Regions from separate parts of the Homo sapiens genome. Here all the other regions are linked to region 7. Evidence: promoter capture Hi-C in 16 types of primary human blood cells and fetal thymus (Javierre and others, 2016). All regions are on one chromosome and are shown on one strand. Each heading gives the region's core, a stretch centred on a gene start or on the middle of the fragment in contact. The rest is flanking DNA. Distances are from core to core; before and after follow the strand shown.

Region 1 (2,961 bases), core at 120-2,619, 510 kb before region 7:
TGAAGCTTTAAAGAGAGGCAGGTTTGCCTGGGGTCTTTCTACAAAGCAGAGCTAAAAAGGAGCCCTTCCAGGATGCCTAGTGCCATCCCAGACACCCTTCCGTCTAGGCTCAGCCCACCCCACTGTAATGTCTCCAAGTGGCCCAGGCCCCCAGAATCGCAGCAGACCTGTGGAGGTGCAGCCAGTGACTGGCCACATCCAAACTCATGCTGATTTGGAAGAACAGCGTGGCTCCAGGGTACAGCAGGGCCAGGTTGACCAACAGGCACATGGTGGAGCAGCGGTCCGTCAGCATGTCCAGCATGGCCCCAAACCGGGTTCCTGGAAGATTAGGTGGGCAAGGGCTGTTATGGCACAGTGGATGCAGGACAGGTGCCCATATTTGGTTTATCACTCTGACGCAGGGTGTAAACGAAGACTGGAAGTGTCCGCCTGCCTGGGGAGGAACGCAGGCTAGAAAACAGGCTGTGTGTGAGGTCAGTGGGCAAAGGTCACCATGGCATGAACTGAGAAAGGCATGAGAGTGGAGGGAACAGGGTAGGAGGAGAGGAAAGCTATGTCTGCAACTCATCAACCCCAGAACCAAGACTCCAGGGCTAGATAGAGACTTGATGCCTCAGGGGAAGCCTTACAGTTGGGTCTGGAGAACAGATTAAAAAATTAGTCAACCCTCCAGAAGCCATCACCCTTCCCTCTCCATCCTCCCTCTAAGCATGCCTTCTGGAACCCCAACTGCTTATGCAGGGCACACAGTAGGCCTCCAGTAAACACCTGTTGAATACACTGTTTTTTGTTTTTTGTTTTTTTTTTTCCGAGACAGAGTCTTGCTCTGTCGCCCAGGCTGGAGTGCAATGGCGCAATCTTGGCTCACTGCAACCTCCGCCTCCCGGGTTCAAGCAATTCTCCTGCCTTAGCCTCCCGAGTAGCTGGGATTACAGGCACGCGTCACCAAGCCCGCTAATTTTTGTATTTTTAGTAGAGACAGGGTTTCACCATGTTGGCCAGGCTGGTCTCGAACTCCTGAACTCGTGATCCACCCACCTCGGCCTCCCAAAGTGCTGGGATTACAGGCGTGAGCCACCGCCCCTGGCCTGAATGGACTTGTATTCAGAGAGACCTCCAGCAGCGCCACCGCCATGTCATGTCTTGCTAATCCACACCTCTCACAAGCAGTGAGTTCTCAAGAGCTAGCTTAAATTCCTTTTGCTACAAAATCAGTCCATTCTTGCTGGGCGCGGCACTTTGGGAGCAAGGCAGGAGGATCGCTTGAGGCTAGGAGCTGGGGACCAATCTGGGCGACACTGCAAGACCCAGTCTCTACAAAAATTTAAAAATTAGCCGGGTGTGGTGGCACGCTCCTGTAGTCCCAGCTAGTCAGGAGGCTGAGGTGGGAGGATTACTTGAGCCCAGAAGATGGGGGCTGCAGTGAGCCATGATCGCGCCACTGCACTCCAGCCTAAGTGACAGAGCGAGACCCTGTCTCAAAAACAAAAAAACAAAACACAAAACAAAAAGCCCCAGGCCATCCTGTTCTGCTTTTTCCAGAGATGGGAATGACAGCCCTCTGACTCTGAGGTCCCGAGGAGGCAGGGGAAGGGAGGAGGGGATTGTTGAACCCCAAGGCTGGCTGAGAGGGGTGTCTGTCACCTTGATTAAGAGCGCGAGCAGCGTGTCCATCGAAAGCGTCCAGCAGGCCGCTGAGCAGGTAGAAGGAGGAGGCCGTGAGGGGGCAGCAGGGCATGAAGTAGAAAGAAATGATGGCGAAGACAATCCGGGCATAACCTTGGAACGGGACGCGGGGAGACAGGGCAGGATCAGGGAGCCCGCCAAGGCCCCTCGCCCTCTCGTTCGGCCCGGGGCCGTGGGCAGCACTCACCGATGAGGTTGGGCACGAACAGGAAGATATTTTCGTCTGGCATCGCGGCGCCTCCCTTGCTGCCCCGGGCCTGCTCTGGAGATGCCAGTGCTGTCCCAGCCCCGCAGCGCGGCCTCAGCCTCCGGCCCGGCGCATCGGCCGCACCACCTGCGCCCTGGACCCCGCCGCCCCAACCTGGCCCCAGATGCTGAAGCCCGCAGCCGTCGGGAGCATGGACCGGCCCCGAGGTGCGCGGGACGCAGGGGGCGCGCGCAGTCCGCCCTTCCTACCCGCAACCTCCCTCGCCTCTGCCAGCCCCGCAGGCGCTCCGGGCCTCCAGCTGCGGTCGCCGCTGCTCCAGCTGCGCGTGGCTTCCGGGAACCTCCTCCTCCGCGCCCGTCGTTGCAAAATTGGAGAGAGGAAAAAGTGGCTTAAAAAAATAGTTGCGGCCCCTTTAAGGCCTGTCGGCTTCCTTTCCCTTTTCCTCCCTCCGCCCCTCTCCCTTGGCTCGTACCAAAGCGCAGAGGAGGAGAGGGAGGAAGGAACCATTAACGTCAAGCAAAGTTAGAAACGGAAAAGGAAAGGGTAAAAGAGAAGACCGAATAAAAATCTCTGCTTTCCTTTTGTGGAGGGTATGACTTCCTGGAGGCAAAGATAAGGCGATAAAATTCCTCCTCCTGAGTCTTTGCGTCCCCAAGAGGCCAGGAGATTTGGTGCAGTCCTCACTTTACTCCCCGCCCCCTAAGTCTCCAGCCGCCTTTGCTCTCGCAGGCTCTAGGCGGCTAGAGAGGCTCCAGAGCGCCCTGCAGATGGGTTGCTTTTCGCGTGCCCCTTGTGATGGGAGGATTAGGTCGCAGGCTCCACCCTACGTCATCCTCCCAAGCTTCTCAAGCGTCTGGCGCTTGGGGTCACTGCCCTCAAGGAGGCACCTGGAGGGGTACGGAGGGGAGGCTGGAGGAGCAAACGGGGCGCGCTAGGAAATTCCTCTGTCTTTAGTTCTAGAACCCCTGATCTCCTAGCAACGAGGCTGCGGAACCTCTGCAGACTCCAAGGGTTTTATAGCGTCCGGTAGCGACACGGAGCCGGCTCCCCCTTTTCCAGCCTTC
Region 2 (2,919 bases), core at 390-2,889, 300 kb after region 7:
CTGCACAGGCAGAGTATGTTTAAAAAGATCTGTAATTTAAAATTTTTCTGGTTTTTGTGGAGTAATACATAGTCATTATAAAACCATTCAAACACACAAATACAGAACACGGAGGGAAAGTGCTCCATCATCCCACCTCTTGAGGATAACCAGTTTTTTGCTTTGTTTTGTTTTGTTTTGTTTTTTTGAGACGGAGTTTCGCTCTTGTTGCCCAAGCTGGAGTGCAATGGCACGATCTCGGCTCACCGCAACCTCTGTCTCCCGGGTTCAAGCGATTCTCCTGCCTCAGCCTCCCGAGTAGCTGGGATTACAGGCATGCGCCACCACGCCTGGCTAATTTTGTTTTTTTTTTTTTTTTTTTTTTTAATAGAGATGGGGTTTCTCTATGTTGGTCGGGCTGGTCTCTAACTCCCAACCTCAGGTGATCTGCCTGCCTTGGCCTCACAAAGTGCTGGGATTACAGGCGTGAGCCACCGCACCTGGCAACCACTGTTAATTTTCGGGGAAATTCCTCCAGTTATTTTTCTAGCTACTACAGGTCACTGCAACAAAGCGAGGCACATGAATTTTTTCATTTCCTGGTGCATATAAATGTTATGGTTCTGGCTGGGCATGGTGGCTCACGCCTGTAATCCCAGCACTTTGGGAGGTTGAGGCAGATGGATCACGAGGTCAGGAGATTGTAGACCATCCTGGCCAACATGGTGAAACCCTGTCTCCACTAAAAATACAAAAATTAGCCAAGCATGATAGCGTGCGCCTGTAGTCCCAGCTACTCAGGAGGCTGAAGCAGGAGAATTGCTTGAACCCAGGAGGTTGAGGTTGCGGTGAGCTGAGGTAACGCCACTGCACTCCAGCCTGGGCGACAGAGCGAGACTCCATTTCCAAAAAAAAAAAAAATTACTGTTCCACAATACTGCAGTCTTAAGTGAGCAATAGTGTTATGTCTATGAAAACGGTACATCCCTTAATTTTTTAAATGCTAACAGTCATCTGAGCTTTTGCAAGTCGTAATCTTTTTGCTGGTGGAAGTTCTTGCCTCATTGGTGATGGCTGCTGACTGACTGAGGTGGTGGTCGGTGAAGGCTGGGATGACGGCGGTTTCTTGACAACAAGGAACTTTGCCTCCTTGATTGCCTCTTCCTTTCACTTGAACACTTAGAGGCCATTGTAGGGTGTTATTAATTGGCCTAGTTTGAATATTGTCTCTGGGAAGAGGGAGGCCCAAGCACAGAGAGAGAACAGTTAACACACATTTATTGATTGAGTTCGCCCTCTTACATGGGCACTGTTTGTGGCACCCCAAAGCAATTACAATAGTAACATCAAAGATCACAGATCACTATAATAGATACAATAATGGAAAAGTTTGAGATAATGGGAGAATTAACCAAATGTGACTCAAACACGAAGGCCAGGCGTGGTGGTTCACGCCTGTGATCCCAGAACTTTGGGAAGCCAAGATGGGTACATCCCTGAGGTCAGGAGTTCAAGATCAGCCTGGTCAACATGGTGAAACCCTGTCTCTACTACAGAATACAAAAAGCTGGGCATGGTGGCTGACTCCTGTAGTCCCAGCTACTCAGGAGGCTGAGGCGGGAGAATCACTTGAATCCGGGAGGCGGAGGTTGCAGTGAGCTGAGATTTTCCAGCCTGGGTGACGGGGCGAGACTCTGTCTAAAAAAAAAAAAAAAAAGCAAGTCACTACTAAACTGGGCTGTCAGGGCTGTTGCCTACCTGAGCTCCTATAGAATTGACTGAGTGACCTTATTCTAAGTATGCCTGCTTTTTTTCTTTTTTGAGACAGGGTCTCACTCTATCACCCAGGTTAGAGTGTAGTAGTATGATTTCAGCTCACTGCAACCTCCACCTCCTGGGCTCAAGCAGTCCTCCCGCCTCAGCCTCCCGAGTAGCTGGGACTATAGGCATGCACCACCACACCCAGCTAGTTTTTGTATTTTTTGTAGAAACAGAATTTTTCCATGTTGCCCAGGCTGGTCTCAAACTCCTGGACTCAAGCTATCTACCCCCTTGGCCTCCCAAAGTCCAGGGATTACAGGTGTGAGCCACCACACCCAGACTTGTTTTGCTTTTGAGGCAGCTTTTGAGCAAAACAACAGCCGGTCTGTTGCCCAGGCTGGAGTACAGTGGTGCAATCACAGATCACTTCAGCCTCGAACTCCTATTCCCAAGTGATCCTCCTGCCTCAGCCTCTCGAGTAGCTGGAACTACAAGCCTGTGCCACCACATTTGGCTAGCTTTAAATTTTTGTAGAGACAGGGTTCTTGTCTTGTTGTCCAAGCTGGTCTCAAACTCCTGGTCCCAAGCAATCCTCCTGCCTCAACTTCTGAAAGCGCTGGAATTACAGGCGTGAGCCACTGTGCCTGGCCCATAAATGTACCTGTTGCCTTAGGAAAGATGCAGCCAACATTCCCTGCCACCACCACACATATCCAGGATGTCTAGGGAAGGCTCAAGCCTAGATTGCTCCAACAGAAGTCAGAAACAAGTGACCAGAAGGTGAACGTTGGCTTGCAGACAAGATTTCACATGGAAGTTCTTGTTTTCAGCTTCTCTTGAAAAATCCAAAAATCTGTGGTCACTAGACCTGCTTACCCCCATGGCTTTCCTTTGAAATGGGGCATAATCTCACCAGATTGCGACTGTCCCCTCCACTTGTTGTCTTGGAGTAGACCACAGTCACTATTCAGGCTACCTCTCTGGCCCCTATAGGCATTTGAGAGTGACTCTCAGTGAAATATTTTCTTTCTTTCTCTCTCTCTTTTTTTTTTTTTTAGACAGAGTCTTGCTCTGTTGTCCAGGCTGGAGTGCAGTGGCACAATCTCAGGTCACTGCAACCTGCGCCTCCCAGATTCAAGCGATTCTCCTGTCTCAGCCTCGCAAGTAGCTGGGATTACA
Region 3 (3,131 bases), core at 416-2,915, 360 kb after region 7:
CATTTAAACTGTACAATAGTTTTTGGTTTTTTTTTTAAATACAGATGGGGGTCTCCCACTCTTGACCAGGCTGGTCTCGAATTCCTGGCCTCAAGTGATCCTCCCATCTCGGCCTCCCAAAATGCTGGGATTATAGGTGTGAGCCACCATGCCTGGCCCTAAACTGTACAATAGGTTTTTAATATATTTATAGGGTTGTACAATCATCAACACAATCAACTTAGAACCTTTCCGTGGCCCCAAAAAGAAACGCTGCACCTGTTAGCCAGCATTCCCCAATCCCTCCGTCCCTCCTAGTCTTGAATGACTACCATCCTACTTTTTTATTTCTCTAGTTTTGCCTATGGAGTCATAATGTATAATGTGTGGTCCATTGTGACTGGCATCTTCTACTTAGATTAATGTTCTTTGAATTTTATTGTGTTATAGCGTATATCAGTACTTCATTTGTTTTTATGTTGAATAATAATGTATGAATACCACATTTTATCCTTGAGTTGATGGAAACGTGTGTTACTTCTGCTTTATGGTTGTTATGAACAATGCTGCTGTGAACATTTCATGTACAAGTTTTTGTATGGACAGGTGTTCTCAGTTTCTGTTAGATACATACTGAGGAGAAGAATTGCTGGGTTATATTGTAACTAGGTTTTAACTGTTTAAGGAACTGCCAGACTTTTCCAAAGTGGCTGCAGCATTTGACATTACCACCAGCAGTCTGTGAGGATTCCAGTTTCTCCACATTTGAGCCAATACTTTTTTTTTTTTTTTTGAGAAGGAGTCTTGCTCTGTTACCCAGGCTGGAGTGCTTTGGCACGGTCTTGGCTCACTGCAACCTCTGTCTCCTGGGTTTAAGTGACCCCACCTCAACCTCCCTCGTAGCTGGGATTACAGGCATGTGGCACCATGCCTACCTAATTTTTTTGTATTCTTATTATTTTATTTTATTTTTGAGACAGAATCTTGCTCTGTTGCCCAGGCTGGAGTAAAGTGGCACCATCCCGGCTCACTGCAACCTCCACTTCCCAGGCTCAAACGATTTTCCTGTGTCATCTTCCCGAGTGGCTGGGACTACAGGCATGGCGTCACCACGCCTGGCTAATTTTTTTATTTTTAGTAGAGATGGGGTTTCACCATGTTGGCCGGGCTGGTCTCGAACTCCTGACCTCAGGTGATCCGCCTGCCTTGGCCTCCCAAAGTGCTGGGATTATAGACATGAGCCACTGCACCTGGCCAGATTTTTTTGTATTTTTAGTAGAGATGGGGTTTACCATGTTTGCCACGCTGGTTTCGAATTCCACACCTCAAGTGATCTGCCCGCCTCAGCCTCCCAAAGTGCTAGGATTACAGGTGTGAGCCACCATGCCTGGCACATCATCACTTTGATTATAGCCATCCTGCTGGGTGTGAAGTAGTAGTTCATTGTGATTTTGATTTGAATTTCCCTGTTGGCTAATGTTGAGCTTTATTTCATGTGGTTGAAATACCATGCTGGCCATTTGTGTATCTTTGAAGAACTATCTGTTCAGATCCTCTGCCCTTTTAAAATGGGTTGTCTTTTTATTATTGAGTTGTAAGAGTTCTTTATATATTCTGATTACAGATCCTTTTTCAGACGTATGGTTTACAAATAGTCTTTTTTTTGAGACAGTGTCTCACTTTGTCAATCAGGCTAGAGTGCAGTGGCACAGTCTCCGCTCATTGCAGCCTCCTGGGCTTAAGTGAACCTCCCATCTCAGCCCTCCAAGTAGCTGGGACTGTAGGCTTGTGCCACCATGCCAGGCTACTTGTTTGTTTCTTTTTTTGAGATGGAGACTCACTCTGTCACCAGGCTGCAGTGCAGTGGTGCGATCTCAGCTCACTGCAACCTCCGCCTCCCAGGTTCAAGCGATTCTCCTGCTCAGCCTCCCAAGTAGCTGGGACTACAGGCTTGCACCACCACGCCCAGCTAACTTTTTTGTAATTTTAGTAGAGATAGGGTTTCATCATGTTGGCCAGGATGGTCTTGATATCTTGAGCTCATGATCTGCCCGCCTCGGCCTCCCAAAGTGCTGGGATTACAGGTGTGAGCCACCGCGCCTGGCCCTTGTTTGTATTTTTTGTAGAGATGCGGTTTTGCCATGTTGCCCAAACTGGTCTTGAATAGGAGGCTCAAACCATCCACCTAGGCCTCCCAAAGTGCTGGGATTATAGGCTTGAGCCACTGCTCCTGGCCAGATTTTCTCTTTTTGCTACTATTGGGAGCTAGCCTCAAAAGGAACTAGCTCTTTGAGTTTATTGGTTTTTCCGTCTGCTAGGACACCTTTTTTCCCTCACATAGAGCACTTCAAGCCAAGAGGTGAAACTTGGTAGCAGTCAGGAAGGAGATTTGGAACACTCCTCTTTTCACAACTATCTCTTGGGGTCTAGTCTCCCTCATTTGTTCATTTTGTTAACAGATAAATGTATTGAGAGCTTAATTGTGCTAGTTACTGAGTGATTATAGTGAGCAAGGCACAGTTCATGTTGTATGGGGCCTACCGTGTAGTGGATAGATATTAGTTAAATAATCATACAGATGTGTAACTACAAGCATAATAAGTGATACAAAGAAGTTTTTCAGACTGTGAAACTGGAAGCACAAAGATGGGAAAGGATTGGGTCAAAGTCATCCAGGTGTCCTCACTGCCGGGTTGCCCATTTTCTGTCTCAGAGTGATGAGACTCGGATGTCCGGTTAGCTGTTCCCATTCCACCCCATTCCAGTCTGGCCCTTGGCAAAAACCTGGTCTGGATTTGATTGGCGCCTCTGTATCCTGGTCAGTGATTTGAAGAAGGCTATAGTCCTGGAGTTGAGTGTTACGTAGGAAAATACCCACAAATCGTCCATTCTATAAACTTGTTGGAATTGTAGATCTTAATTTTGAATATTCAGTCATTCTGCTTTGGTAGCATACAAGGAAAGATCAGTTTTCTCTAGGAGAGAAGTTACTTAACATAACTTCTGAGAAAGAATAGTTATTTAACATAAAAAAGAAAGTTATTTAACATAACTTCTGAGAAAGAATAGTTCTCATTGATAACTTGGAAAACTACAAAAAGCATAGTGTATTTTTGGATCCCATGGTTTCTATATATTTATTTCCATCTGGG
Region 4 (3,065 bases), core at 411-2,910, 470 kb before region 7:
GGCCCCATGAAGCAGTTCAGCCAGGGCCTCAGAGGCCACCGTGGGGGTCTCACTTCCAGGCTCTGGCAATATCTCCTCCTCCTTCAGGGGCAGACCTAGGAGGTGAAGTTGTGTGAGCTTCTCCACTTCCCCACACCCCTTCCTTCTCCAGAGAGATATTTTCTAGAACTCTTCCTCCCTCCTCCATCAGCTGGGCCTGCAGGGGCTCAGATGGTCCCAGGCTCGACTGAGGGCCAAGATCGGAGGAGGGGCTCCCAGCTGCCCTCATACTCCCACTCCCACACCTCTTCTCTCCCCTCCCCTCTCCCTTCTCCCTGGGCTGTGTGGGCCTTCATTGAACACCTTAGCTCTTATGGACCCTGGACAGCGCCAGCAAGGCAGAGGGGTCGCCGGTGCTGCCTTCCCTTTCACCTCAGTGGTGATCTCCCCCCAACCCTGGGGCTCTGCAGAGGATCTGGCCGCACCTCCCAGCCCTTGCTTCCGCAGTGCCTGGCTTTCTCTCTGGGTTTCTGTCTCTGCAGTGTGGCTGTCTTTTCTCTCTCTCTCTCTCTCTCTCTCCCCCCCACCCTCTCTCTCTCTGGTCCTCTGCAGTCTCTGCCTCCTTCCCTGGAGTCTGGCTGGGGGTCAGAGTGGGGGACTGAAAATCTGGTCTTTGAGCCCTGCCTCTGCTCATCTGTCTTTGTCCATTCATCCAAGAACAGTTGTGTGTACAGCGCCTGGCATCTCTCTCAGCACCTCCATCTCCCACCCAGGTCCCTCCATGCTTCTGCCGCCTCCGCAGACATCCCCCCAACTTTCCCAGCCCTCCTTCTTGGATCTAGCCCCTGAGACACTGCTAAAAGCTTCTCTCATTCATTTCTCTGCCTTCTCAATATTGAGGGTTAAGGGGCTTCGGGTTCAAGCCTGAAAGCTCTGGCTTGCCCCTTCCCCATCAGCTGTGCCTCTCCCCTCCCCCATGTGCTCGGAAGACCCAGGATATTAAGAGAAAGGAGGGTGGAGGACCCCGCTGGACGCCTTCCTGGGGCCCACCCCCACAGTCTCATGTCCTTACCCTGGATCCAGGGACAGCTCAGCAGAATTAGGAACAGCAGCTGGGGAGGCGGCGGGTGCTGGGCCCTGGGAGTCCCCATGGCGACTCACCCCGATCTCTCTCCTCTGTGCCTCTCTAAGTAATCTGGCTGCCACCTTTCCTCCGTCTCCGTTTATCTTTCCCTTTAATTGTTTTTTTTTTTTTTTTTTTTTTCCTCGTAGGAGTCAGCAAAGAAAGACAATTTCTCTGCCCCTTGGGATGGAGGGGCAGAATTGGGCTAGGGGTCGCCTGGAGCCCACCCCCCTTTGCTCAGTCTCCTCTGTCCTCTTCTCGCGGCTCTGTGGTGGAGGGGGCGCGGCTCCGGCTGCAGGGGGTGGGGCCGAGAGGGCCGAAGGGGCCGGGTGGCCTGGGTTACCCTCCTGCTCAGGCGCCTGGGTCCACTGGGCTGTCTGGACCCCAAGCTAGGGGACTGGGGAGGAGAAAGACAGCTTCTGGGGGTTTAGGGTGGGGTCGAGGATCGAGGGGGTCTCCACTGGGCTCTAGCGGGGCTTGTCGGGGAGGGGAAGGGGTGGGTTGGGGAACTGGGAGAGCCGAAGCTCGGGCACTGGAGCTGCGGGAGGGAGAAGCTGAGAAAGGTATCGAGCCCACGTCAGATCCTGGGGACGGGCGGAGGGAGGGGCCTGGGATTTATTTGACGGGGAGGGAGGAGGAGGAAGTGCAGATGGAGGAGGGAGGGATCATACGAGCCAGGGCCGTAATCCTCACTCCCGCGGCCCCTAGGGGAGGCAAAGGAAACTCTCTGGTCCCAGCAGTAATTAGCCCCCTCCGCCTGCCATTCCAGCACATCTGGAATCTGAATCTCCTCTTCCCAGGGTGCCGAGGGGCTGCATAGCTTGGTTCGCGCCTGCTAGGCCCCCAATTATGCCCCCTGTTCACATTCAGACCTCCCAAGGGGCTTCCCTTCCCCTTTTACAGTAGCTCGGGTGGAATGGGCTCTCCCTCCTCCAGGGGAATAGAGAGCTTCCACGATTGTGACAAGTCTCGTGGGTGACGGGCCGGGGTTTGGGGAGGAGAGACAGACCCCTCCTCTTCCATAAACCCTGACCCCGGCCAGCTAACAGGCGGCCTCGGCTCTGATTTTCCCTCCGGAGCGCCCTTTTCAGCACCAGCGGCGCGCGGACAGCTCCCCTCGCCCCGCCGGGGCGGGCCCGGCCCGACGCCGCCCGCGATTGGCTGAGGCCGCTTTCGGTGTTTGCCAGGCTCGCGGGCTCCCGGGCTGCCTAGGGCCAGCGGGAGTCACAGGCCGACCGACCGACGGACCAGCCGCCCGACGGACTGGCCTCAGCATCCTTGCCCGCAGTCCCGGGCGCCTGCCCAGCCGTCAGTCCGCGCTCGCCCCGCCCCTCAGGCCCCGCCCCTCAGGCCCCGCCCGATACGACCCGCCCCTTCTTTCGCATTGCGGGACGGCTGGAGGCTGGCACCGTGGCCCCTGCGCCCCACGTGGCGCCCTTTCCGGGCGGGGGGGGTGGGGAGGCACCTCCAGCGACAACTCTCCCCCCTCCCCCGGCACCCGGCTGATTTGCTGTGCCACTGGGAGGGTTCGGGGGTGGCTGAGCTGAGAGGGCTCCGGGAAGGAGTGACGTCAGGGTGAGTGGGAGCCCAGGAAGGAGCGAGTAGGAGAGAGGGAGCGAGAGCCAGGCAGGACCGCAGGGTCGGGGCTAGTGAGGAGCGAGGGCAAGGAGAGAGCAGTGAGGCCGGAGAGAAAGAAGCTGCCGCGGAGGAAGACAGGCTGCGGGTTCCCGGGACTGCAGGTCCAGGCAGGGTAGGAACCGCTGCCCAGGGGAGCTAGGAGGAAGCGGGGAGAGAGAGCGAGCGAAAAGCGGGGGTGGGGAGGAAAGGGGGAGATTGAGGTGGGAGAGAGAAGCAGAGCGAGAGAGAGGAGGCTGCTGGAAGGAGAAAGAAGAGGGTGAGGAGGCGACAGAGGGAGAGGAGGAAGAAGAGGTAGAAGGAGAGAGAAAGGGGAGAGAAAGGAGAG
Region 5 (2,830 bases), core at 5-2,504, 290 kb before region 7:
ATCAGGGAGGGCTTTTGAGTGGAGGTAGGCCTTGAAGGATGAAGATAATTTGGCTAGCTGATGGAGGCAGGGCCAGTGAGGGAAGGGCATTCCAAGCAGGACGAATGTAACAGTGGAGGCCCTGAGATGCGTGGGGAACAGTCAGGGGTTTAATTACCTGCCTCCTCTGGGGAACTGTGTGATTGTGGCTTCTACCAGGCTGGAGAATTGTGGCAGAAGAGCCCACAGAATTACCCTACGTTTATTGAACAGTAAACATTGGCCTTTACAGGGCCACTATTTGGCCTGGCCCGGTACTGGCAAAAAACTTCTATCCATCTCTTCCCCCCAGCAATCCTATGAGGTTGGAATCATTTGCTGCATTTTATCGAATAGGAAGCCATGACTCGTAGAGGTCTGGTGACTTAACTGAGGTCACCCACTGAGGACGTGGCAGAGCTGGGTCCTGAATCTGTGGCCCTCAGGCTCTTTGCCTGGCCCTGCCTCACATAGACTACCTGCAGCCAGACAGGGCCTGTGAGGGGATGATGAGCAGGGTCGGCCTCTTTTTCGCCACCTGTCTGTGGCTTTTCTCTTTTGCCAGCTGACCAGACCAGCCCCATGGTGTTTTTAGTTGTCCCCTTTCCCTCAGTCCTGATTGGCATTTTTAGGAACTTAAACCTGTTGTTGCCTGGCACTATTCTTTAACCTCGAAGTATTGTCTCCCTCACGGGCCCTGGATCAGTGTGGTGGTGATGGTAGACAAAGCTTAGATAGCATGCTGGAGTTTGCAGAATAGCAGGAAGTCGTATATTCAGTCTCCATGGCTCCTTGCAACAGCCTAAGGAATACGCAGGGTGGGCTGAGTACTTAGCCCCATTTCATAGCAGAGGAAACTGAGCCTTTGAGTAGATAATGTCTTGCCCAACATCACGCAGCTAGTCGGAGGGGAAGTTAGTTTTGCATCCAGGTCTTTGACTGTGCTCCGTGGTCACTGAGAGCCAGGCAGAGGCATTTAGATTTTGATGTGGGGTGTGAGGCAGCAGGAAGCCATGGAAGGCTGAGGGGTGGAGGGTCCTGCCCAGTTGAAACTGAGTGGAACTAGGAGGTACTAGGCCAAGGCCTGAGTTGGCCGCTGTTGTCCCAGGCTCAGTCTGAAGCAGGGCCATCTCTGATACCTGGTTATGGCCTCCTGGGGACCCATCAGAGACCCAGGCTGAGGCTGGTGGTGTCAAGAGCACCAGCTTGCCTAGAGGGCACAGACATGCAGATGAAACCAGTGGAAGCACAGAGGTCCGCAGTGTCTGAGCTGAAATTGCTGCTACTAGAAATATTAGCACAGTAGGAGAGCTGAGCTTTTGAATCAGGTGGTCTTCAGTATGAATCTTTGCCTTGTCACCTAGAAGCAATATGACCCTCGTCAAGTCACTTTCTGATTTTTTGAAGTGATAATGACATGCAGTTGAGAGTCCGGGTATCCGGGCACAGGGCCTGCTGCGCTGGTAGCCGTTACTGCAGGCAGGTCCTGATAGGGCTGGGGAAGTGCTGCAAGTGGCAGAACTGGGGCTGGAATCTGGGCCTGATTCCCAGGCCACACTGGGGTTGCGCTGGCACTGAGGGGGGCTTTGCAGAGAGCACGGGCCCTGCATGTGACCTCCCTGGGCTTCAGGTTTTCACTCAGGGTCTGTGGAAGGGGCTGGCATAAATTCTCAGGAAATTGGGCTTCTGGGTTCCAATTTAGCCACTCTCCAGCTTGGTGACCTTGACCCTCCCGCTTTTCTGTAAGCTTTGGTTTCTTTTTTTCTTTTTTTTTTTTTTTGAGACAGAGTTTTGCTGTTGTTGCCCAGGCTGGAGTGCCAGTGGCCTGATCTTGGCTCACTGCAACCTCCACCTCCTAGGTTCAAGTGATTCTCCTACCTCAGCCTCCCAAGTAGCTGGGATTACAGGCACGCGCCACCATGCCCAGCTAATTTTTGTATATTTACTAGAGACGGGGTTTCACCATGTTGGCCAGGATGGTCTCAATCTCTTGACCTCATGATCTGCCTGCCTTGGCTTCCCAAAGTGCTGGGATTACAGGCATGAGCCACCGCGCCCGGCCTAGCTTCGGTTTCTTTACTGTTACGTGAGGCTGAAGAGAACCTCCCCAGTCTGTTGGAAAGGTCACTATGAGCAGTTGATGGGGAAGGATGTTCAGCACAAGAAGCAGTGCAGGTGGGAGAGTCCGGGTACTGATGTGGCCTCTTGGACCACCGCCAGTGCTGCCTTCTGTTCCCAGAAAGCCAGGGCAGACCTCCTTCGTGCTGCCTCTGCCATACAGAGCAAGGGGCATAAGTGAATCCTCCTGTCCACTGAGCTCAGGAAACTCATTCTAAGGGAAGAGATTGGCAGAAAGAGGGGGGCCAGGCGAGTTGGGCCTCCCACATCAGAATATCTTGATAAAGAGTCAGACCCCAGAGCCAGGCTTCCCTGGTTCATATCCCACCTGTGTCACTGGCACCAAGCCAGCCTCCTTCCCTGCTTCAATTTCTTCATCTGTGTACCGGGAATCATCATAGTACCTGCCTGCCAAGCTCTTAATAACATTTGTGGCACACAGTATGAGCTCGAATGTTCACTGCTGCTATTACCAGGCAAAATTTGGAAATACAGTGTTGCTTAAATTGGGTATCTATAGGCTGGGTGCAGTGGCTCACATCTGTAATCCCAGCACTTTGGGAGGCAAAGGTGGGTAGATCACTTGAGGTCAGGAGTTCGAGACCAGCCTGGGCAACATAGTGAAATCTCGACTCTACTAAAAATACAAAAATTAGCTGGGCGTGGTGGTACATGCTTCTAATCCCAGCTACTC
Region 6 (2,889 bases), core at 82-2,581, 320 kb before region 7:
GCAGCTGAAAGTATTAGATCAGAATCAGAACTGCCAGGTCCCTTCCCACGTCCAAGCCTGCTGAAGCTTCTTTCATCTTCTGGGAACTCTGCATCTCTGATCTCCCACCCACCCCACGATTATTGGAAGTATACAATCCTGTCTGCCCTTTCCTAGGGGAAGTGCGGAACTACATATGATACATCTGACATCTCCAGCTTCCAACTTCGGGAGAGGAGACTTTGCGGTTAGCTGGCTATTGTGAAGTCAGTTTTTCTCTGCCCCCAGCAAATGTTGTGATGTGGATAGAAGTGGGGCCTCGGCACAGCCAGGCGCAGTAGCTCACATCTGTAACCCAGCACTTTGGGAGGCCGACGTGGACAAATCACAAGGTCAGGAGTTTAAGACTAGCCTGGCCAACATGGTGAAACCCTGTCTCTACTAAAAATACAAAAATTAGCCGGGCATGGTGGCATGCGTCTGTAATCCCAGCTATTTGGGAGGCTGAGATAGGAGAATCACTCAACTTGGGAGGCAGAGGTTGCAGTGCGCTGAGATCGCACCACTGCACTCTAGCGTGGGCAACAGAGCAAGACTCCATCTCAAAAAAAAAAAAAAAGAGAAAGAAAAGAAATGGGGCCTTGGCAAAGTGGGGTGCATACATCATCCCTTGTCTTGGCTTGCCTGGCAACACACAAGCCTGGGGCACTGCCCGTGCTCCTGCATAATGTATGAGCCCATGGTAGGAACAAAACACCAGCACCAGCGAGTCTGGGCACTGCAGGCCACGGACGTGTCCAGGGGCCTTGCCAAGGCTGAAGTCTCTCTGTTGGCAGAATATGCAGAATATGTGTTCCTGGAGGCCTTTTGTAGGGCTGAGGTGAGAACTGGCCTCAACTTGGTCCTCAGGATTCCATCAGACAATAAGACCGCCCAAGGCCGGGCACAGTGGTTCACGCTTGTAATCCCAGCAATTCGAGAGGCTGAGGCAGGAGGATCGCCTGAGCCCAGGAGTTCAAAAACAGCCTGAGCAATACAGTGAGACCCCGTCTATACAAAAAATTTTAAAAATTAGCTGGGTGTCGTAGCATGCACCTGTAGTCTCAGCTACTTGGGAGACTGAGGTGGAAGGATCCCTTGAGCCAGGAGGTCGAGGCTGTTGTGGTGAGCCATGATTGTGCCATTGCACTCCAGCCTGGGCTACCGAGTGAGACTCTGTCTCAAAAAAAACAAAAACAAAAACAAAAACCGGAAGACAGCCTAAGAAGACAATCTTCTTTAGGATCAATAATGGTGACATTAGCAACAGCTAGACTTCTGTTTTCTGGGCTTGAAACGCCCTCTGAGAGGGCCAGGGGTGGCCAAGAGGGTGGCTGAGACCACCTCAGTATGGTTGACAGTGGGAGGGAAGATTTGGATCCAGGGACACAGCCCCTGGCAGTTTCCGTGGCTGCCTCATGGTGTAGGAAACCCCAGGAGCAGCAGCTGTGGTGAGGTATGTTGGGGTGGAGAACATGGACAAAAATAGGTATATGGTGGCATTGTTTTTAGGGGAAAATGCCAGGATTCAGCCATCGTTTAGGAAGTCGGAGGCCTCCATAGAGAGGGGTGCTTGTGTGAGCGTGCATGTGTGGGTGTGTGCAAGTGTCTGTGTGTGTGTGATCTAAAAAGGTTAGGAATGAAACGGGGAGGTCTGAGTGCCTTGAAAGCCAAGGAAATTAGGACGTGTGGAAAACAATGCTTCATTCGTGGATGGTGTTTGGTTTCAATTCATTCATAGAATCAGTGAGTATTGGCTGAGTGCAGTGGCTCTGGCCTGTAATACCAGCAACCTGGGAGGCCGAGGTGGGAGGATCATTTGAGGCAGGAGTTGGAGACTAGCCTGGCCAACATAGTGAGACCCCATGTCTACTTTATTAAAAGAAAAAAACAGGCCAGGCGCAGTGGCTCACACCTGTAATCCCAGCACTTTGGGAGGCCAAGGCGGGCAGAACACCTAAGGTCGGGAGTTCGAGACCAGCCTGACCAACATGGACAAACCCCGTCTCTACTAAAAATACAAAATTAGCTGGGCATGGTGGCACTTCCAGCTACTCTGGAAGCTGAGGCAGGAGAATTGCTTGAATCCAGGGCGGAGGTTGCAGTGAGCTGAGATCACACCATTGCACTCCAGCCTGGGCGACAAGAGCAAAACTCCGTTTCAAAAAAAAAAAAAAAAAAGAAAAGAAAAGAAAAAAGAAAGAAAGAAAGAAAAAGAATCAGTGAGTATTCACCAAGGCTCCCAGGGCTAGGCCAAGTACTAGAGCTCAGGATACGGAGATGACTCAGACCAGGCCCCAGACACTTGCAGTCTAATTGTGGAGCCAGACATGGAAGTGAGGAATTCAAGTATCTTGTGAGAAGTGCGAGAACAACAGTATCTGTAGGATGCTGTGGGAATTCACAGTCCAAAGCAGCCACCTCTGCCTGAGGTTGGCAGGGAGACCTCACAGAGGCAAAACTGAGGACGTGCTTGAGGGATGAGGAAGAGGTTTGAGGGGAAGACAGAGGGTGTTCCAGGCAGAGGGATCAGCAACTGCAAAGCTGTGGAAATGTGAGACCCTACACACTGGTTCAGGAAGCTTCAGCAGATCCTACTGAAGGTGGCTTATGCCTGTAATCCCAGCTACCTGGGAGGCTGAGGCTGGAGGACTGCTTGAGCCCAGGAGTTCAAGACCAGCCTTAACAACATAGCAAGACCACATCTCTAAAAATTCAGAAAAAAAGGCTGGGCACAGTGGCTCATGCCAGTAATCCTAGCACTTTGGGAGGCCAAGGCGGGCGGGATTGCCTGAGGTTAGGAGTTCGAGACCAGCCTGGCCAACATGGTGAAACCCCGTCTCTACTAAAAATACAAAAATTAGGTGTGCG
Region 7 (2,700 bases), core at 15-2,514:
GCTGCCCGAGTACTGGCTGCCCCCAAGGAAGCCATACTTGTCCGTCTTGCGCAGGGCCAGCCCGTTTATCTCTGAATCTGAGCCCATGGAGCTCACATCATCCGCCAAGGACTCCAAGGTCCCAGACATGAGGCTCACGGAGTCCAAGTAACTCAGCGTGTCCGGGGCCTGCCCTCGAGGCCCAGAGATGCCAGGTCCCAGGCTGGACGTGGAGCCCAGGTCTTGAGAGTTTTCAGCAGGCTCCGGAGCTGGGGTCACGGTCACGACAGCTACCGGAGCCTCACAAGTCCCAGAGGGGCCTGTGCCAGGGCCTGAGGGGTCCTCAGGAGCCTGTCCTGCTGATGCTGATGTTGCTGCGGCAGCTCCATGCCCACCTGTCACTTGTCCTGATGCACTCCGTGCAGTCACTCCTGAGGCCACTGTGGTTCCCGGCTTGGGGGCAAGCGGGGGTTTGGCGGTCAGGGCACCAGGAGCCGTTCTGGAAGGGGTCCTGGTAGGGGTCCCGGTGGGGGTCCCTGGTCCTGGGGCGGGTGAGGGTCGAGCCTCCTCTGTCTTCGGCGAGTCTGCCCCTGCGGCCAGAGCCCTCGATGTCTCAACTCCAGCCACTGCCGCGGGCTCTGGGGATTCCGGGCCGGAGGGGAGCTGCGGCTTTGGGGCTTCGGGCGAGGCCTCCAGGGTCAGCACCACCACCGTGCTGCCCGTGACAGCCGGGGCTGGGGCCGGGGCTGGGGCCGGGGCCGGAGCAGAGGTCTCGGCCGACCCCGGGACCCAGGCGGGCCGCGCCTCCCCGGGGGCCACCAGGGTGACGGGGGCCGAAGTGGCCGTAGTCACTGGAGGTCCCGGAGCCACCACCACGACGGGCCCGGCCCGGGAACCCCGGGGCGGCGGCGAGGGGGCCGCGGGGGCGCCATGACGGCGCGGCGGGGCCACCAGGGGCGCCGTGCCCGTCTCCATGGCCGCGGGCCGCCCCTCACATCCCCCCGCCGGGGAGGCCGCAGAAGGCGCCGCCCCTCGGGCCTCCCGGCGAGGCCAGCCGAGAAAGGGGAGAGGGCGAAGGGCGCGGCTCGGCGCGCGCCGGGGGCGGAGCGGCCGCTGGGCGCGCAGAGGCGGGGCAGGGGTCGGGGGGCGCCGCGCGCCGGGGTCTCTCTCGAGCCCTCTCACCCCCTCGCGCGCTCTCGCCACCGCCCCCTCCCTCCTGCTTGGGGGCGAGCCGCCGACCTCGCGCCTGCGCACACGCCGCAGAGCCGGCTCCGCGCCAGCGTCTCGGCGTTCCACGCCTGCGCGCGGACTGGCTCATCGCGCTCCTTTTTTCTCCCGCCTAGTCAGAGGATTTGGACGAATAGTGGGAGAGAGAGAACTGGGCTTCTGCCAATCGTTGGAATCGTGGGCGGGGCTGGAGGCGAAAAAGGGGTGGGTCATCTGGAAAGAGGAAACGGAGAAAGCTAGGGCTGTAAGACCAATCAGAGGACGAGGAAAGGCAGGGGGCGATGGGACGAAAGAAATAACCAATAGAAACGCAGGGGTCTGAACCTCCTGGCCAATGAATATGACTGAAGGGTGAATGACCGCGGAAGGGCGGAGGAGGAGGCAGGGCTGTGCGAGTAAGAGGTGGGGCCTGGAGGCTTCTTAACCAATAGGAATGGTAAAAAGGGAGCCAATGAAAAGGGGAGCAGGTGGAGGTCAAATTGACAGGCAGTGATGTCTATTTAGGCGGTGACAGACAGCATCCGCAGTCAATAGGAAGAGCTGAAGAATTCTTTAGGTCTCCCAAAATGGTCAGTAAGGAATGACAGCTGGGAGGAGGCGGGGCAAGCTAGAGATTAATTCGCCCCGTCAGCCAATGATCGTGTTCTCCCACTTTGGCCACAGGACAGGAAAATAGATAGCTGTCTCAGCCAATGGGAGCATCCAAAGGGCAAAGATGCTGCCAGCAGGCGGTGCCAGCCCAGGGATAGTCGGTGACAACCGGAGACAAGCCTTATGGGAGGGTGACAGCTGGGGACAGCACGGAGAAGGGGCGGGGGCATTAGTGCAGCCCTCAACCAATGAGTGCCGCGCTGCCCCCTCTCGAGTCCTTTCCGGTCCCCTATTCTTCGTTCAGCTCCTGAGCCCCACACTCTGGTGGTCTGTGGGACCCTGAGCCCCACCACAGATCCAGTGCCCTGACCCAGTACTCTCATCCTTTACTCTATAATTCTCCGATCTCGGCCCCCAACTAACCCCAACACTCCAGGCCCAGGTGGCAATAGCCAGAGCCCCCAGATCCTATAAGCAACCCATATCTCTGCTTCACCCATTTCCTGCGGGAATCCCAACCTCCAAGTCCCTCTCCTCAGTTCCCATCTATCTGAGCTCCTCCCCAGAACCCAGGCTCCAGTTCCTCAGACCTTATCCCTCTGAGTACCCCCTCCATTTCTTCTAGTGGGGATCTCAAACCCCAAATCCATGAATCCCTAATACCATGAACTCCCCATATGTGTGTTACTATTCTTTTGGGGATCCAAGGCCCCAGTCCCGTCAACCCCTCTCCCCTCACTGCCACATCCCTCTGTGCTCCTCATGTTCCACTGAGAATCCCGACCTCAATCTCATGAGCGCTCCAGGTTGTCCTTAGATCACAAGCATAAAGACCTGACGTTATGAGCTCCAACCTTCCAACTTCTAAACGCCCTCTTCTTTCTCTGACCCCCATATTCTGAT

The links. The method cuts DNA at HindIII sites, captures the fragments that hold promoters and counts their contacts. A CHiCAGO score of 5 or more calls a contact.
Region 1: a contact is called between a fragment that was not itself captured here and the fragment with the promoter of TBC1D10B in region 7, in 1 of 17 cell types (M0 macrophages). The highest score is 5.1, in M0 macrophages.
Region 2: a contact is called between a fragment that was not itself captured here and the fragment with the promoter of TBC1D10B in region 7, in 1 of 17 cell types (megakaryocytes). The highest score is 5.0, in megakaryocytes.
Region 3: a contact is called between a fragment that was not itself captured here and the fragment with the promoter of TBC1D10B in region 7, in 2 of 17 cell types (monocytes and M0 macrophages). The highest score is 5.4, in monocytes.
Region 4: the fragment with the promoter of SEZ6L2 here is called in contact with the fragment with the promoter of TBC1D10B in region 7 in 1 of 17 cell types (M0 macrophages); the score reaches 5.1 in M0 macrophages.
Region 5: a contact is called between a fragment that was not itself captured here and the fragment with the promoter of TBC1D10B in region 7, in 16 of 17 cell types (naive CD8 T cells, naive CD4 T cells, fetal thymus and 13 more). The highest score is 18.9, in naive CD8 T cells.
Region 6: a fragment that was not itself captured here is called in contact with the fragment with the promoter of TBC1D10B in region 7 in 15 of 17 cell types (naive CD8 T cells, fetal thymus, endothelial precursors and 12 more); the score reaches 14.2 in naive CD8 T cells.

What each region holds. Positions count from the first base shown.
Region 1 is chr16:29,860,939-29,863,899 of GRCh38, forward strand. CDIPT (CDP-diacylglycerol--inositol 3-phosphatidyltransferase) reads right to left here and starts at 2,288. Exons shown (of 6, transcript NM_006319.5): 1 at 1,877-2,288; 2 at 1,648-1,782; 3 at 168-321. The coding sequence starts at 1,919. It also overlaps the pseudogene CDIPTOSP. RefSeq lists enhancers at 1-253, 2,409-2,946 and silencers at 1,981-2,290, 2,301-2,360. The HindIII fragment of the contact is 2,733 bases long and covers 4-2,736 here.
Region 2 is chr16:30,671,191-30,674,109 of GRCh38, forward strand. No RefSeq gene overlaps it. Among named protein-coding and RNA genes, the nearest start is that of FBRS, 14 kb to the left of the region's middle. The HindIII fragment of the contact is 4,963 bases long and covers 1-2,919 here.
Region 3 is chr16:30,725,767-30,728,897 of GRCh38, forward strand. All of the region lies in intron 25 of SRCAP (Snf2 related CREBBP activator protein), which reads left to right. Among named protein-coding and RNA genes, the nearest start is that of TMEM265, 13 kb to the right of the region's middle. The HindIII fragment of the contact is 4,495 bases long and covers 1-3,131 here.
Region 4 is chr16:29,897,890-29,900,954 of GRCh38, forward strand. SEZ6L2 (seizure related 6 homolog like 2) reads right to left here and starts at 1,661. Exons shown (of 18, transcript NM_001243332.2): 1 at 1,052-1,661; 2 at 1-95. The coding sequence starts at 1,130. It overlaps ASPHD1 (aspartate beta-hydroxylase domain containing 1), which reads left to right and starts at 2,599. Exons shown (of 3, transcript NM_181718.4): 1 at 2,599-3,065. RefSeq lists an enhancer at 1,559-1,853 and a silencer at 2,217-2,646. The HindIII fragment of the contact is 3,079 bases long and covers 841-3,065 here.
Region 5 is chr16:30,077,408-30,080,237 of GRCh38, forward strand. All of the region lies in intron 2 of PPP4C (protein phosphatase 4 catalytic subunit), which reads left to right. Among named protein-coding and RNA genes, the nearest start is that of PPP4C, 2.8 kb to the left of the region's middle. The HindIII fragment of the contact is 1,018 bases long and covers 746-1,763 here.
Region 6 is chr16:30,049,341-30,052,229 of GRCh38, forward strand. It overlaps a transcript of TLCD3B not described here. Among named protein-coding and RNA genes, the nearest start is that of ALDOA, 15 kb to the right of the region's middle. The HindIII fragment of the contact is 2,534 bases long and covers 65-2,598 here.
Region 7 is chr16:30,369,230-30,371,929 of GRCh38, forward strand. TBC1D10B (TBC1 domain family member 10B) reads right to left here and starts at 1,265. Exons shown (of 9, transcript NM_015527.4): 1 at 1-1,265. The coding sequence starts at 954. It also overlaps a transcript of MYL11 not described here. RefSeq lists silencers at 691-770, 861-1,150. The HindIII fragment of the contact is 4,560 bases long and covers 1-2,700 here.